Linked DNA regions of Homo sapiens: region 1 is linked to region 2. Evidence: promoter capture Hi-C in 16 types of primary human blood cells and fetal thymus (Javierre and others, 2016). All regions are on one chromosome and are shown on one strand. The core of a region is centred on a gene start or on the middle of the fragment in contact, and the rest is flanking DNA. Distances in the headings are between cores, read along the strand shown. Region 1 overlaps TTI2 (TELO2 interacting protein 2). Region 2 holds the start of DUSP26 (dual specificity phosphatase 26).

Region 1 (6,837 bases), core at 2,314-4,813, 95 kb before region 2:
TTAGTATGCTTTTTTTAAATTTTTATTATTTTTTTTTATATTTTGAGACAGAGTCTCGCTCCGTCACCCAGTCTGGAGTGCAGTGGTTCCATTGCACCTCACTGCAACCTCTGCCTCCTGGGTCCAAGTGATTCTACTGCTTCAGCCTCCTGAGTAGCTGGGACTACAGGTGCGCGCCACCATGCCCGGCTAAGTTTTGTATATTTAGTAAAGACGGGGTTTCACCATATTGGCCAGGCTGGTCTTGAACTCCTGACCTTAGGTGATCCACCAGCCTTGCCCTCCCAAAGTGCTGGGATTACAGGCGTGAGCCACCGCACCTGGCCTCTAGATTGGTATTCTGATCACTGCTCTGCAGATGTTAAATGATGTGCTATGAAGTACTCTATTCTCAATTAGATTTAAAGAACATTAGGATTAACAAAGTTAAGCAAATGTTTTATTGCAACACTTCTAAATGACCTTTAATCTTCTAATATGCATTCTAAATCTAGAGAGAGGTACAACCTGTATGGTTTCCCAACCTATTTGACCACAGAATTTTTTTTTTTTTCCTGTGGGGCATCAAAGAGTACCTAGATGGAGATTCTGCAAAACACCAATCTAAACCATTCTTAAGATATATAGCCAGGCACAGTGGCCCACGCCTATAATCCCAGCACTTTAGGAGGCTGAGGAGGGGAAATCACGAGGTCAGGAGTTCGAGACCAGCCTGGCCAACATGGTGAAACACCATCTCTACTAAAAATTTTTTAAAAATTAGCCAGGCATGGTGGAGGGCACCTGTAATCCCAGCTACTCAGGAGGCTAAGGCAGGAGAATCACTTGAATCCAGGAGGCAGAGGTTGCAGTGAGCTGAGATCGCGCCATTGCACTCCGGCCTGGGTGACAGAGCAATACTCCATCTCAAAAACAAAAACAAAAACAAAAGGCTGGGCATGGTGGCTCACGCCTGTAACCCCAGCACTTTGGGAGGCCAAGGCGGGTGGATTACAAGGTCAGGAGTTCAAGACCAGCCTGGCCAACATAGTGAAACCCCATCTCTACTGAAAATACAAAAAATTAGCCGGGCCTGGCGGTGGGCGCCTGTAATCCCAGCTACTTGGGAGACTGAGGTAGGAGAATCACTTGAACCCAGGAGGCAGAGGTTGCAGTGGGCAGAGATCGCGCCACTGGACTCCAGCCTGGGCGACAGTGTGAGACTCCATTTCAAAAAAAAAAAAAAAAAAAACAAAAAAGATATACTAGAGTTTCAAAGAGAAGCGATTTAACTGTCAGAATCTGGAACTGATACCTGGTAAAAGAGTCAACTATGAGCACCTCAAGTAACTATAGTATATTTTATCTTTCTAATGCCATTTTCTCAGTTTAAAATCCTATAGGTGTGTGAAAATGGGAGGTATTCAAATACATAGTATACATTTAATACTTTGTACTGAATGTATTAAATACATCCAAGCAAGTTCTCAAGAGAAAATCGGCTGAGTTTTGCACCTTAAGGCTGCTATTACCTGGGCCAAGTATGTTGCATGAGAAGTTTTAGGGTTTCCAATATCTTCAGTCTAGCTTCCTCCTCAGGTCCATCATAAACCTCCAGATAACCAATGATGACTCTCTCCAGCCTCTTTAAGTGCCGGACAGTTAGGATCCCCAACCTAAAGATGAAAGAGAAAATATGACGCCAGTGCAGTGGCTCATGCCTGTAATCCCAGTACTTTGGGAGGCTGAGGTGGGAGGATTGCTTGAGGCCAGGAGCTCGAGAGCAGCTCAAGCAACATAGCAAGATCCTGTCTGTATAAAATAATAATAAATAAAAGCCCAGGGCCTCACCTGTTCACGAAAGCCGGCAGGTTTCTTGCGTAGGTCCTGCGTAAAAGAAGGCGGTGCTCTGGCTCCATGTGGGTCAGGATCAGCCGCAGGACCTCATCACAATGGGTGGTGGGTCGAGCTCCATCTCCTTTCCAGTGCAGGGTTTTCTCCAGGATGGGGAATAAATCCAGCAGACACAGGAGCACAGCCTAGGAGGAAGGAATGGAAGGACGGTGCATAGTTCATCCATTTGCATTTACAATACTCACTGACTTCTCTAGAACTTCATTAATCTACCGTCCTTAGGGTCCATACCAGAGAATTCTAAGATACTAGTAATCATATATGAACTGCACATTACTTTACATTTTCAAACTTTTTTACATTCTTAATCTCCATCTGACAGTCTCAAATCAATACATTCTCCTCAGGACCATTCTTTGCTAATTTATAAAATCGGAAAAATGGCAGAGCTGGGACTTTAATCCAGATTTTAGGAATCTAAGTCTACTGTTACTATGTCACTAAGTCTAAGTGACTTAGTGATACATGATATTTACACATTTTTTTTTTTTTTTTTTTTTTTTTGTGAGACAGAGTCACTCTGTCACCTAGGCTGAAGGACAGTGGTGCAATCTTGGCTCACTGCAACCTCCGCTTCTCAGGCTCAAGCGATTCTCGTGCCTCAGCCACCTAACTAGTTGGGACTACAGGTGTGCACCACCACACTTGGCTAACTTTTCTATTTTTTAGTAGAGACAAAGTTTCACCATCCTGGCCTCAAGTGATCCACTCGCCTTGGCTTCCTAAAGTGCTAGGATTTATCCCTAGGCCAGGGGTATCCAATCTTTTGGCTTCCCTGGGTCACAGTGGAAGAAGAATTGTCTTGGGCTACATATAAAATACACTAACACTAATGACAGCTGATGAGCTTTAAAAAAAAAATGCAAAAAAAATCTTACAACATTTTAAGAAAGTTTACAGATTTGTGTTGGGCTGCATGCAAAGCCATCTTGGGATGCATGCAGGCCATGGCTTGGACAAGCTTGGTTCAGGTACTTCCTTTTAACTTTCCTGGGACCTTTGGTTTTTCTCTTGGTGTTTTGGTTTTCTAAAATTTATTTTCTCTACCACCTTAAGAACCCCAGCCTTTCCGGCTGTTACAATCTGGATTCTCAATACCCAGTATTTAAAATACTGTAAAAAGAAAAAGAGGCTGGGTGCAGTGGCCTATGCCTGTAATCCTAGTATCTTGGGAAGCCAAGGCGGGCGGATCACTTGAGGTCAGGAGTTTGAGACCAGGCTGGGCAACATGGCAAAACCCCGTCTCTGCTAAAAATACAAAAATTAGCTGGGCATGGTGGCACCTGCCTGTAATCCCAGCTACTAGGGAGGCTGAGGCAGAAGGATCGCTTGAACCTGGGAGGCGAAGGTTGCAATGTGCCAAGATCGCGCCACTGTACTCCGGCCTGCATGACAGAGCAAGATCCACCTCAAAAAAATAAATTAAATAAAATAAAAATAAAGGCAGCAGGGTGGGGAGGGGGAAAGGAGGGAAGTAAGGCATAAAAAAGAAACAACGTTGCTTCCACCTCTCATTTTATATAACTTGTTTCTTCTGTCTTTGTAGTTTCTTTCTCCCTCCTAAGAAACTTTTACTTATTCATCCTTCATAAAGCTAAGTATCACCTCCTTCCCAAAACCTCCTAAAGTCAACCCAAACCTAGTTAGTTACCTATTGCTTGAAAGCCACTGCACCTTTTTTTTTTCTTTTTTTTTTGAGATGTAGTTTCACTCTCGTTGCCCAGGCTGGAGGGCAATGGCATGATCTCGGCTCACTGCAACCTCTGCCTCCTGGGTTCAAGCAATTTTCCTGCCTCAGCCTCCTGAGTAGCTGGGATTAGAGGCATGCGCCACCATGCCTGGCTAATTTTGCATTTGTTTTTTAGACGGAGTGTTACTTTGTCACCAGGCTGGAGTGCAGTGGCGCGATCTTGGCTCACCGCAACCTCCGCCTCCTGGGTTCAAGTGATTCTCCTGCTTCAGCCTTCCGAGTAGCTGTGACTACAGACACGTGCCACCATGCCCGGCTAATTTTTTGCATTTTTAGTAGAGATGGGATTTCACCATGTTAGCCAGGATGGTCTCGATCTCCCGACCTCGTGATCCGCCCACCTCAGCCTCTCAAAGTGCTAGGATTACAGATGTGAGCAACCATGCCCAGCAATTTTGCATTTTTAGTAGAACGGGGTTTCTCCATGTTGGTCAGGTTGGTCTTGAACTCCCAACCTCAGGTGGTCTGCCTGCCTCGGCCTCCCAAAATGCTGGGATTACAGGCGTGAGCCCTCGCGCCTGGCCACCCACTGCGCTTTATAGAAACCTCTTCTAATGCAGTCATCATTCTGTACTGTATATATATGTAGACATCTAAGTACATATTCGTATTTACATAAATGTCTTTTCCAAAGCTTATCTTAAAGCCAAAAATCCCTATCCGTTCATTTACTCTTGGAACCATGTCTGTTGGATGAAATAATAAATCACACTCCGATATCTAACATGCAAGAAGTTTCAAGTGTGTGTGCTGATAAAAGGCAAAACAGAACACTTAACTAATAAAAATAGACTTTTTCAGACATAAAGCTGCCTCCAAAGTAACGTACTTTTTTTTTTTTTTTTTTTTGAGATGGAGTCTCGCTCTGTCACCCAGGCTGGAGTGCTGTGGCATGATCTCGGCTCACTGCAACCTCCACCTCCTGGGTTCAAGAGATTCTCCTGACTCAGCCTCCCGAGTAGCTGGGACTACAGACACGTGCCACCACGCCTGGCTAATTTTTCCTATTTTTAGTAGAGGCGGGGTTTCACCATATTAGCCAGGATGGTCTTGATCTCCTGACCTCGTGATCCGCCCGCCTCGGCCTCCCAAAGTGCTGGGATTTACAGGTGTGAGCCACAGTGCCAGGCTTTTTTTTTTTTTTTAAATTGAGATGGAGTCTCGCACTGTCACCCAGGCTGGAGTGCAGTGACGTGACCTCAGCTCACTGCAACCTCCGCCACCCGGGTTCAAATGATTCTTGTGCCTCAGCCTCCTGAGTAGTAGGGACTACAGATGCACAACATCATGCCCGGCTAATTTTTTTGTATTTTTAGTAGAGATGGGGTTTTGGCATGTCAGCCAGGCTGGTCTCGAACTCCTGACCTCAGGTGATCTGCCTCCCTCAGCCTCCCAAAGTGCTGGGATTACAGGCGTGAGCCACCATGCCCAGCCCAAAGTAATATACAATTGACTCAGATGAATAAAAAACACTGTCTTATCTGTGGAGACTCAGGAATGTGGAGGCCTGCTTGGTGCTGAGATATTTTTAACTTGGCAACGCTTTTAGTTATCATCCTCACTTTCCAAGGCAGGAAAATGTCTCTCAATTACTACTACTCACACAATGCAACCTTCTACTCAAATTCAGAGAATCCAGACCCAGTTATGAAGAAATCATACTATTACCTGAATGAGGTGGTGCTCTGGTGTGTACAGGTGGTTGGAAATGGCATGGTATAGGACCTGGGCTCTGTTATACTGGAGCAAATCAGCAGCTGGCTGCAACCAGACAAATCGTCAAATTAAAAGAATAGTTTCCCAAGATTGGCACATGTTGACTATCTTTGAAATTGGATTATGGGTATGAAGCATGAAGAACATGCCATCCCAAAATATGCATGATTGTTTCGAGTTGAAAATATTGCAGAAACTGTAGATTCAGAAAGGGTGAGCTGACTTGTCTCTTTCTGCATGCAGCAAGTGATAAAAGATTCCTCTGGGTGGGGTATGCTTTCCATACCAGGGTAAGAAAACAGCCCTTACAGAGACTTGGAATTGAAGGCTGCAATGGACCTACATAAACTGAACAAAGTAACCTTTATCTTCCACCTATCCATCCCCCCACCACCTACAACCATGTATCTCCTAGTGACTACCCTAGAGCCAAGCATGGTGACTCACACCTGTAACCCCAGCACTTTGGAAAGCCAAGGTGAGAGGCTCACTTAAGGCCAAGTTTGACAGCAGCCTGGGCAACAGAGCAAGACCCTGTCTCTACCAAAAAAAAAAATTAAAAAATTAGTTGGCCTGGTGGTGCATGCCTGTAGTCCCAGCTACTTGGGAGGCTGAGGTGGGAGGATCACTTGAGCCCAGGGGGTTGAGGCTGCAGTGAGCTATGATTGTGCCACTGCACTCTAGCCTGGGTAACAGAGCAAGACCCTGTCTCAAAAAAAAAAAAAAAAAGGAAAATGTACTGCCCCTAGCCACATTTTCTTTGTCCTGTCATTTTTTCTGACAAGACAAAGAAAATGTGGCTAGCGGTAGTAAAAAAAAAAAAAAAAAAAAAAAAAAAAAAAAGACGAAAAATTTATCATTCTTAGTCTAAAAAGTATAAAAGCATATTGCTTTGGCCACTTCTTCAGAATACTCTCTCTTGTGAAGATCCCCATGTACACGTAAAACTAATAAAATGTGTATAGTTTCCTCTTGCTAATCTGCCTGTTGTCAATTTGGTTTCTAGATCCAGGAAAAGAGCCCACTAAGAGATAAAAAGGGGGCTGAGGCCGGGCTCACGCCTATAATCAATCCCAGCACTTTAGGAGGCCGAGGTTGGTGGATCACTTGAGGCCAGGAGTTTAAGACCAGCCTGGCCAACATGGTGAGACCCTACCTCTACAAAAAATTTAAAAAAAAGAAAAAGTAGCTGAGCATGGTGGTGCGTTCCTGTAATTCCAGCTACTCTAGAGGCTGACGCACAAGAATCGTTTGAACCCGGGAGGCAGAGGTTGCAGTGAGCTAAGATCACACCACTGCACTCCAGCCTCCAGCGTAAGCGACAGAGCAAGACTCTGCCTCAAAAAAAAAAAAAAAAAAAAAAGGGCAGGGGGGCAGGGTTGGAGGTGATCTCTGGCTCTCCCCTACAGGTACATGGAGATTAATTATACCACTCTCTCTACTTCTGTGTATATTTTAAAAGCTCCATAGTACAAAGT
Region 2 (6,709 bases), core at 1,979-4,478:
TGGCTGCCTTTTCCCAGAGACATTGCACAATAGATGGAAGGTCAGAGAAGTCATCTATTGTGCCTGGTATGTAGCACTGGCATGTAATAATAAATATGTGATACATGAATGATATTATTACTGGAACAGAGTCTTTCTGTCCAGACTTGGGTATTTTTATTTTATTTATTTTATTTTAAAATAATAAGTAGAGATGGGGTCTGGTTTTGTTGCTCAGGCTGGTCTAGAACTCCTGTACTCTAGATACTCCTGCCTCAGCCTTTCAAACTGCTGGGATCACAGGCAAGAGACACTGTGACTGGCCAGAGTTGGGCATTTCAATAATCCTGGCCAAACTCTCCCAAACCTGCAGCCTCTACTCTTGGCCCATGTGCCCTATCCCCTCAATCTTCAACCAGGAACCAATGACACCACTGCATACCTGTCTGCCACCCTTCTCCTTTCTTACACACACAAACACACACACGCTCTACCGTGGGCCCAGTCTGCCCGATACATACTGGTCTCCGAGATAGAGGCCTGGCCAGACCTCGTCGGCATGGTTACAGGCTGTCTTGCCTGTGTAGAGGAGCCGCTCCAACTCGAAGACATTGAGGAAAGGATGTTGAACGGTTGGCATCTCCTCCAGGGTCCCTCGAGTTCGAACAGGAGACCTTGAGCTACTCCGGGAGAAGCGGGCCATAAAAGTCATAGAAGCCCAAAGCCAGTTACCAGGGCACATCTTAGAGGTGGCAGAAACCGTGGCAGCTGCAGGAGTGGCTGTGGTGATGATGGGTTCAGTTGCCAGGTAGCTGCTGCTGGAAGAGGAAGGGGTGTGAGACACACTTGAGTGAGTCCAGAGCAGCTGCTTCCCTTCCCTGGGCTGGTCCTTCGGGAGAAGATTCTCGAGGGAGAGAAGGTAAGCCTGGCTCTGGCAGGAGCCTTCAGGGGTGGCTTTTTCTTCAAGCTGCAGCAGCTCCTTTTGCTCAGCTCTTTGGCTCTGCCACGAAACGAGGTGGGAGAGTCACATGTCCTTGTTTACGGGGAGAGGGAGCTGCCCAGCTGCTAGGTTTCAGCTTCATCACCCCACCCCCACTGCCAGCACGCATACACACACACACACACACACACACACACGGCACTTGGGTGGTTGTCCCCACTGCTGGGGATCTTGCCAGCTGGAATCTGAGTCTCATCTGCCTGGGGCTATCGGCAGAGAGCCTAGGGAGCTGGGATGGGGTTGGGGGTACCTTTAGACCCATCCAAAGAGAATTAGCAGGGAGACAACAGCAGCTGAGGCCATGACACATGTCAGGCCTGCCATCTCTGTGCCAGAGTTAGACTTTAACCCCTTCGTGACCTGCCACTGCCTCAGAGATAAACCTGCTATGGGAAGGGTGTGGTGGGGGTGGGATGGGGTGAGTGGAGAATAGCAATAAAGAGGAAGAGTAAGTTTGCAAAAAATAAATACTTGCTGAATGCATGAGCTTATGGAAGAAGGCACCAATCTATGTGCACAACAGGCAAACCACCCTCCTTGGATCAGCATTAGGAAATTACTGATCAGATCTCAGCTCTAATGTGAGAATTTCTGAATCTAAGCAGGGTTGGAGTGTTTTGTCTGTGTGTGTCTTGAGGGGAGGGTGACAGAGGTGGATGGTGGGGGAATTGACGCAGGGTTGGAGTGTTTTGTCTGTGTGTGTCTTGAGGGGAGGGGGGACAGGGGTGGGTGGTGGGGGCCTAGAAAGCAGGAAGGAAAGGGAAAAATGAGGGATCCTGCCAGGTCCAGGGGCTCAGAGGCTTAGAATTACCAACCGTATGGCTGTTGGAGTCAAGTGACCCTACAAAACACGAGGTCAATAACGAGGGGCTTAGCAGGTGTGTCTCAGATTACCTGTTGAGCTGCAGAGCTGGGAAGGACCAGCGTTTGAGGCTTGCCCTGGGACCTTCAGGCAGGGAGGCAACAATGGCAAGGCCCCTTCCCCCTCCCTCCCCATCCTCTCACACCTGTGGTCCTGCCTGTTTGAAAGCAGGAGGTCCTGGAGCCTGCAGAATCCCCTTCCACTCCCTTCCTGGCCTCCTGCCAGGGGGACTTCAACTCTATGACCAGCAGTGAGAGGCCATCTTTGTCCCTGCCCATGCTCTGTCCCCATCTCACACCCCTAGACAGGGCCCAGCTCTCCCTTGCTCCAGTGCCAAGAGAAACCAAGCACTTACAAGGCATTAGAAGCAGGGGTTTTAGGACCAGGATTGGTGAGGGAAGATTGGATGTTAGGGAGTTTAGGGAGAGAGAGTTTTCAATGGCTGGGTCCGGAAGGAGCACAGAAATATAGCACTACAGCCATCATCACCACCACCATCACCATCATCACTACCACCATCACCACCATCACTATCACCATCATCTTCTTCTACCTTTGCACCCAGGCCTAAAGACCCCATTACTGTATTGCAATACAACCTTTCCTCTTAGAGAGTCTGCTGTCTACGAGATGATGAATGGGATGGGGGAAGCGTGAAGGAGCCCAGGTCTAAGAAGGATCTCCGTGGGGCTGTTTTTCCCGGGGGATGCAGAAGCCCCTTTCTGTCCAGGGATACAGCCCTGGGCATTCTCCAATCCCATCCGTCGGCTCCAGGGGCCCTGGCCCGCCGCTCCCTCCCTCCGCCTGCGGTCGCCTTTGTAACAGGTCCATGGCTGTCGCCCCAGTCCTCGCCAGCCTGGCAGCCGGGCCCCGCGCGCGGAGGGAGGGCGCCCGGGAGAGAGAGGCTGGCTCGCTGGGCTCGGGTGCCCGCTTCCCGGTCCCCTCCCTCCCCCGTCGCCCCTAGCTGGGCGCCTCTCCCCAGCGTGGAGAGCCAGCTGAAAAGGCGAAGGCCCGCCGCAGCCCCTCTACCTCTTTGCAAGCGCTGCGCTGGGCCTCAGTCCGAAAGGCGGATCGCCGGCGCAGACAGCGCCACGGCCATGACGCTCCTGCTGCTGTCGCCGCCGCTGTTTCTGCCCAAGACAGGTTGACAGATTAGCAGCTATTTTTAAGCCATGACACACACGTCGAAGCAGGGTTCAAATCAGCGTGTGCGCTGGTGACATAAAGGGACTCGGTCTCACATTCGGTGGCCCGAGTCGCCAGGCAGCGTGGGCTCCCCAGCCAACCCCCCACGAGCCCGCGCGCCTTGCAGACCAGACACGGCCCCGCCGAGCCCCAGCAGCACCGCCTGGAATGCATGCGTGTGTTCTCAGAGCTGCACCAATTACAAAGCGTTTTGCCTAAAGATTACATTATAAGTCATCCCAGGCACTGTCTTAAACACACACACTCCTCCCAGACAGAATTAACTAATTACATAGACACGATTCTGTGCACTGGCTTGTACATGCCTCGGTCTCAAGAAACCGTGTCATAAAGAACAATGGTCCGAAGCCCCCATTAGCCTTCATTATATGCCATGTGCTTCATTTAGCTTAAGGCATTTTATACTCCCCACAAGTCTATGAGGGAGACATAATTACTATTGTCCTAATTTTAGGGAGGAGGCGACCTAGGCACAGAGAGGCTAGGTACTCTGCCCTGGTCACACAGCTCGTTACTGGCAGAGCTGAGCTTGTTCAAACAATGCAGCCTGGCTTTGCAGTTTATGTCCTTAACCACTCTCTAAACCAGTGCCTCCCACAAAATGGAGAAGGCACCATGGATTTCCTTCATTCAGGAAGCCATTTCCACCAGCTCAGCTCATAGTGAACTTCACTTTCCCCAGACTCTCAAAACATTCATCTTCATATTTCTTTCTTTCTTTTTTGAGATGCAGTCCCACTCTGTCGCCCAGGCTGGAGTGCAGTGGCGCAATCTTGGCTCATTGTAACCCGCCTCCCAGGTTCAAGCCATTCTCCTGCCTCAGCTTCCCAAGTAGCTGGGATTACAGGCGCCCGCCTCCATGCCTGGCTAATTTTTTGTATATATTTTTTCTTTGTTTGTTTGTTTTTTAGTACAGATGGGGTTTCACCATGTTGACCAGGCTGGTCTTGAACTCCTGACCTCAGGTGATCCACCCACCTTCTCTCAAAGTGCTCAGATTACAGGCATGAGCCACTGTGTCCGGCCATCTTCATATTAATTTCTCATGTGCTGCCTTCTAGTGACATATTCACTTGATCGGCATTTTTATTGTAAGCACCAAGATTGTAAGCACTTTGAAGGCAGGGACTGTGCTACCTTCCCCAGTGCCTACCTTATTGTGTGAGAGGGAAGTGGGGGAGATGATAAATGTTAGCAGATGATGCTGTTGAGAACTAGGCTGGCTTGAACTCTCGCTGTCTACTAGAAGAAAGGCAGAAAGTAGATTGGCTCAGATTGAAGCTGATGGTGTCAGCTATAGCTGAAACCAGGACTGACTCCATTCCCAGCAGTGGTGGCAGATCAGGTTTTGATCTCTGGGTTAGAGAAAGTACTGGCCAATGTGACCAATCCCCAGGTTCCATGACAGGCTGCCATCCAAGTTTAATGTACCGCCTAGCCTTTTTTTTTCTCTAGAGAAACAAAATTCTTTTCACTTTTCCTTGTCCCTTGTGTTACAGCAGTTTAAATATGAAATGAAATCCTTGTCATTTAAAACAAAGAGGCAGGGCATGGTGGCTCACACCTGTAATCCCAGCACTTTGGGAGGCCAGGGTGGGCAGATCACCTGAGGTCAGGAGTTCGAGACCAGCCTGGCCAACATGGTGAAACCCCATCTCTACTAAAAAACAAAAATTAGCCGGGTGTGGTGGCAGGCGCCTGTAGTCCCAGCTACTTGGGAAGCTGAGGTGGGAGAATCACTTGAACATGGAAGGTGGAGGTTGTAATGAGCTGAGATCATGCCACTGCACTCCAGCCTGAGCGACAGAGCGAGGCTCCCTCTCAACAAACAAACAAAAGCGAAAATAAACAATCAAACAAACAACAAAAAACCCCAAGGAATTGACCTGAGAAATTTGAGATTTTAATTTGCGCATCCAAATTAAAATTTGGATTTAATTTGCAAACCTAGTTAAAACATTATCATAAAAGGAATTGTGAAAGAGCACTTACAAGATCAATATCTTTTTTTTGTTTGTTTGTTTGAGACGGAGTTTTGCTCTTTTTGCCCAGGCTGGAGTGCAATGGTGCAATGTCAGCTCACCGCAACCTCCACCTCCCGGGTTCAAGCGATTCTCCTGCCTCAGCCTCTCAAGTAGCTGGGATTACAGGCATGTGCCACCATGCCTGGCTAATTTGGTATTTTTTAGTAGAGACAGGGTTTCTCCATGTTGGCCAAGCTGGTCTCGAACTCCCGACCTCAGGTGAAGATCAATGTCATTTTAAGTGAAAAGTCTTCAAGATTGGTAGGTTGAGAGGATGTTGTAGGTAAAGCTGATCTCAATCTTTGACAAGACCTCTGTTTCAACCCTGCATTACACTTTTTTCAAAAAGCGGGGAAAATACAGTTTAAAGTACACCACAGACAATGTGTACAGCTGTTTATGGGTAATTATAGAAATTACCTGGGGACTGACATATCCGTGAGGATCATTTTCATGAGTCGATCTATAGCCCACTTGATTTCTTTTGTTTTGTTTTGTTTTGTTTTTTTGTTTGTTTTTTTGATTTTTTTTTGAGGCAGGGTCTCAGGCTGGAGTGCAGTGGTAAAATCATAGCTCACTGCAGCCTCAACCTCCTGGGCTTAAACCATCCTCTTTTAAACGATCCTCTTGCCTCAGCCTCCTAAGTAGCTGGGACTATACAGGTGCATGCCACAATGCCTGGCGATTTTTTTTTCTTTTTTTTTTTTTTAAGACAGAGTCTTGCTCTGTCTCCTAGGCTGGAGTGCAGTGGTGTGATCTTGGCTCACTGCAACTGCTGCCTCCCCAGTTCAAGCAATTCTTGTGTGTCGCCTCCTGAGTAGCTGGGATGACAAGTGCATGCCACCACACCTGGCTAATTTTTGTATTTTTTGTAGAGATTAGGTTTCACCATGTTGGCCAGGCTGGTCTCAAGCTCCTGACCTCAGGTGGTCTGCCCGCCTCAGCCTCCCAAAGTGCTGGGATTATAGGCCAGAGCCACCATGCCCTGCCAATCAGCTCATTTTATCTCACCCATATATTAAATTGGTGTCATCATTCTGATTGAATACCTGAGAGAGACTGACATTTGGTCAGATTAGTTAACTCATCCACATCTAGTGTGTGGCAGGACACAGGTTCAAACCCAGGGCTATCTTATTTGAAACTTCAGTGTTTCAAGACTAGGCTGGAGAATCGTTTCCTCTGTAAAGCCTTTTTGGATTCACTCTTTTTTTTTTTCGAGACCAAGTCTTGCTCTGTTGCCCAGGCTGGAGTGCAGTGGCATGATCTCAGCTCACTGCAACCTCTGCCTCCTGGGTTCAAGCAATTCTCCTGCCTCATCCTCCTGAGTAGCTGGAATTATAGGCATGCACCACCATGCCCAGCTAACTTTTTGTATTTTTAGTAGAGACGGGGTTTCACCAAGTTGGCCAGGTTGGTCTCGGGCTCCTGACCTCATGATCTACTTGCCTCAGCCTCCCAAAGTGCTGGGATTATAGGTGTGAGCCACCGTGCCCGGCCTGGATCCACTCTTTTTTTTGTTTGTTTTTTGAGATGAAGTCTTGCTCTGTCACCCAGGCTGGAGTGCAGTGGCTCAGTCTCAGCTCACTGCAACCTCCACCTCTCGGATTCAAGCAGTTCTCCTGCATCAGCCTCCCA

Evidence for each region. Contacts are between HindIII fragments. The CHiCAGO score rates a contact against its expected background, and 5 or more counts as called.
Region 1: a fragment that was not itself captured here is called in contact with the fragment with the promoter of DUSP26 in region 2 in 7 of 17 cell types (non-activated CD4 T cells, M0 macrophages, monocytes and 4 more); the score reaches 11.1 in non-activated CD4 T cells.

Annotation. Positions count from the first base shown.
Region 1 is chr8:33,501,918-33,508,754 of GRCh38, forward strand. It overlaps TTI2 (TELO2 interacting protein 2), which reads right to left. Exons shown (of 8, transcript NM_001102401.4): 4 at 5,312-5,404; 5 at 1,831-2,018; 6 at 1,512-1,655. Among named protein-coding and RNA genes, the nearest start is that of TTI2, 7.8 kb to the right of the region's middle. The HindIII fragment of the contact is 1,423 bases long and covers 2,853-4,275 here.
Region 2 is chr8:33,596,795-33,603,503 of GRCh38, forward strand. DUSP26 (dual specificity phosphatase 26) reads right to left here and starts at 3,229. Exons shown (of 4, transcript NM_024025.3): 1 at 2,871-3,229; 2 at 501-797. The coding sequence starts at 721. RefSeq lists an enhancer at 895-1,395. The HindIII fragment of the contact is 17,028 bases long and covers 1-6,709 here.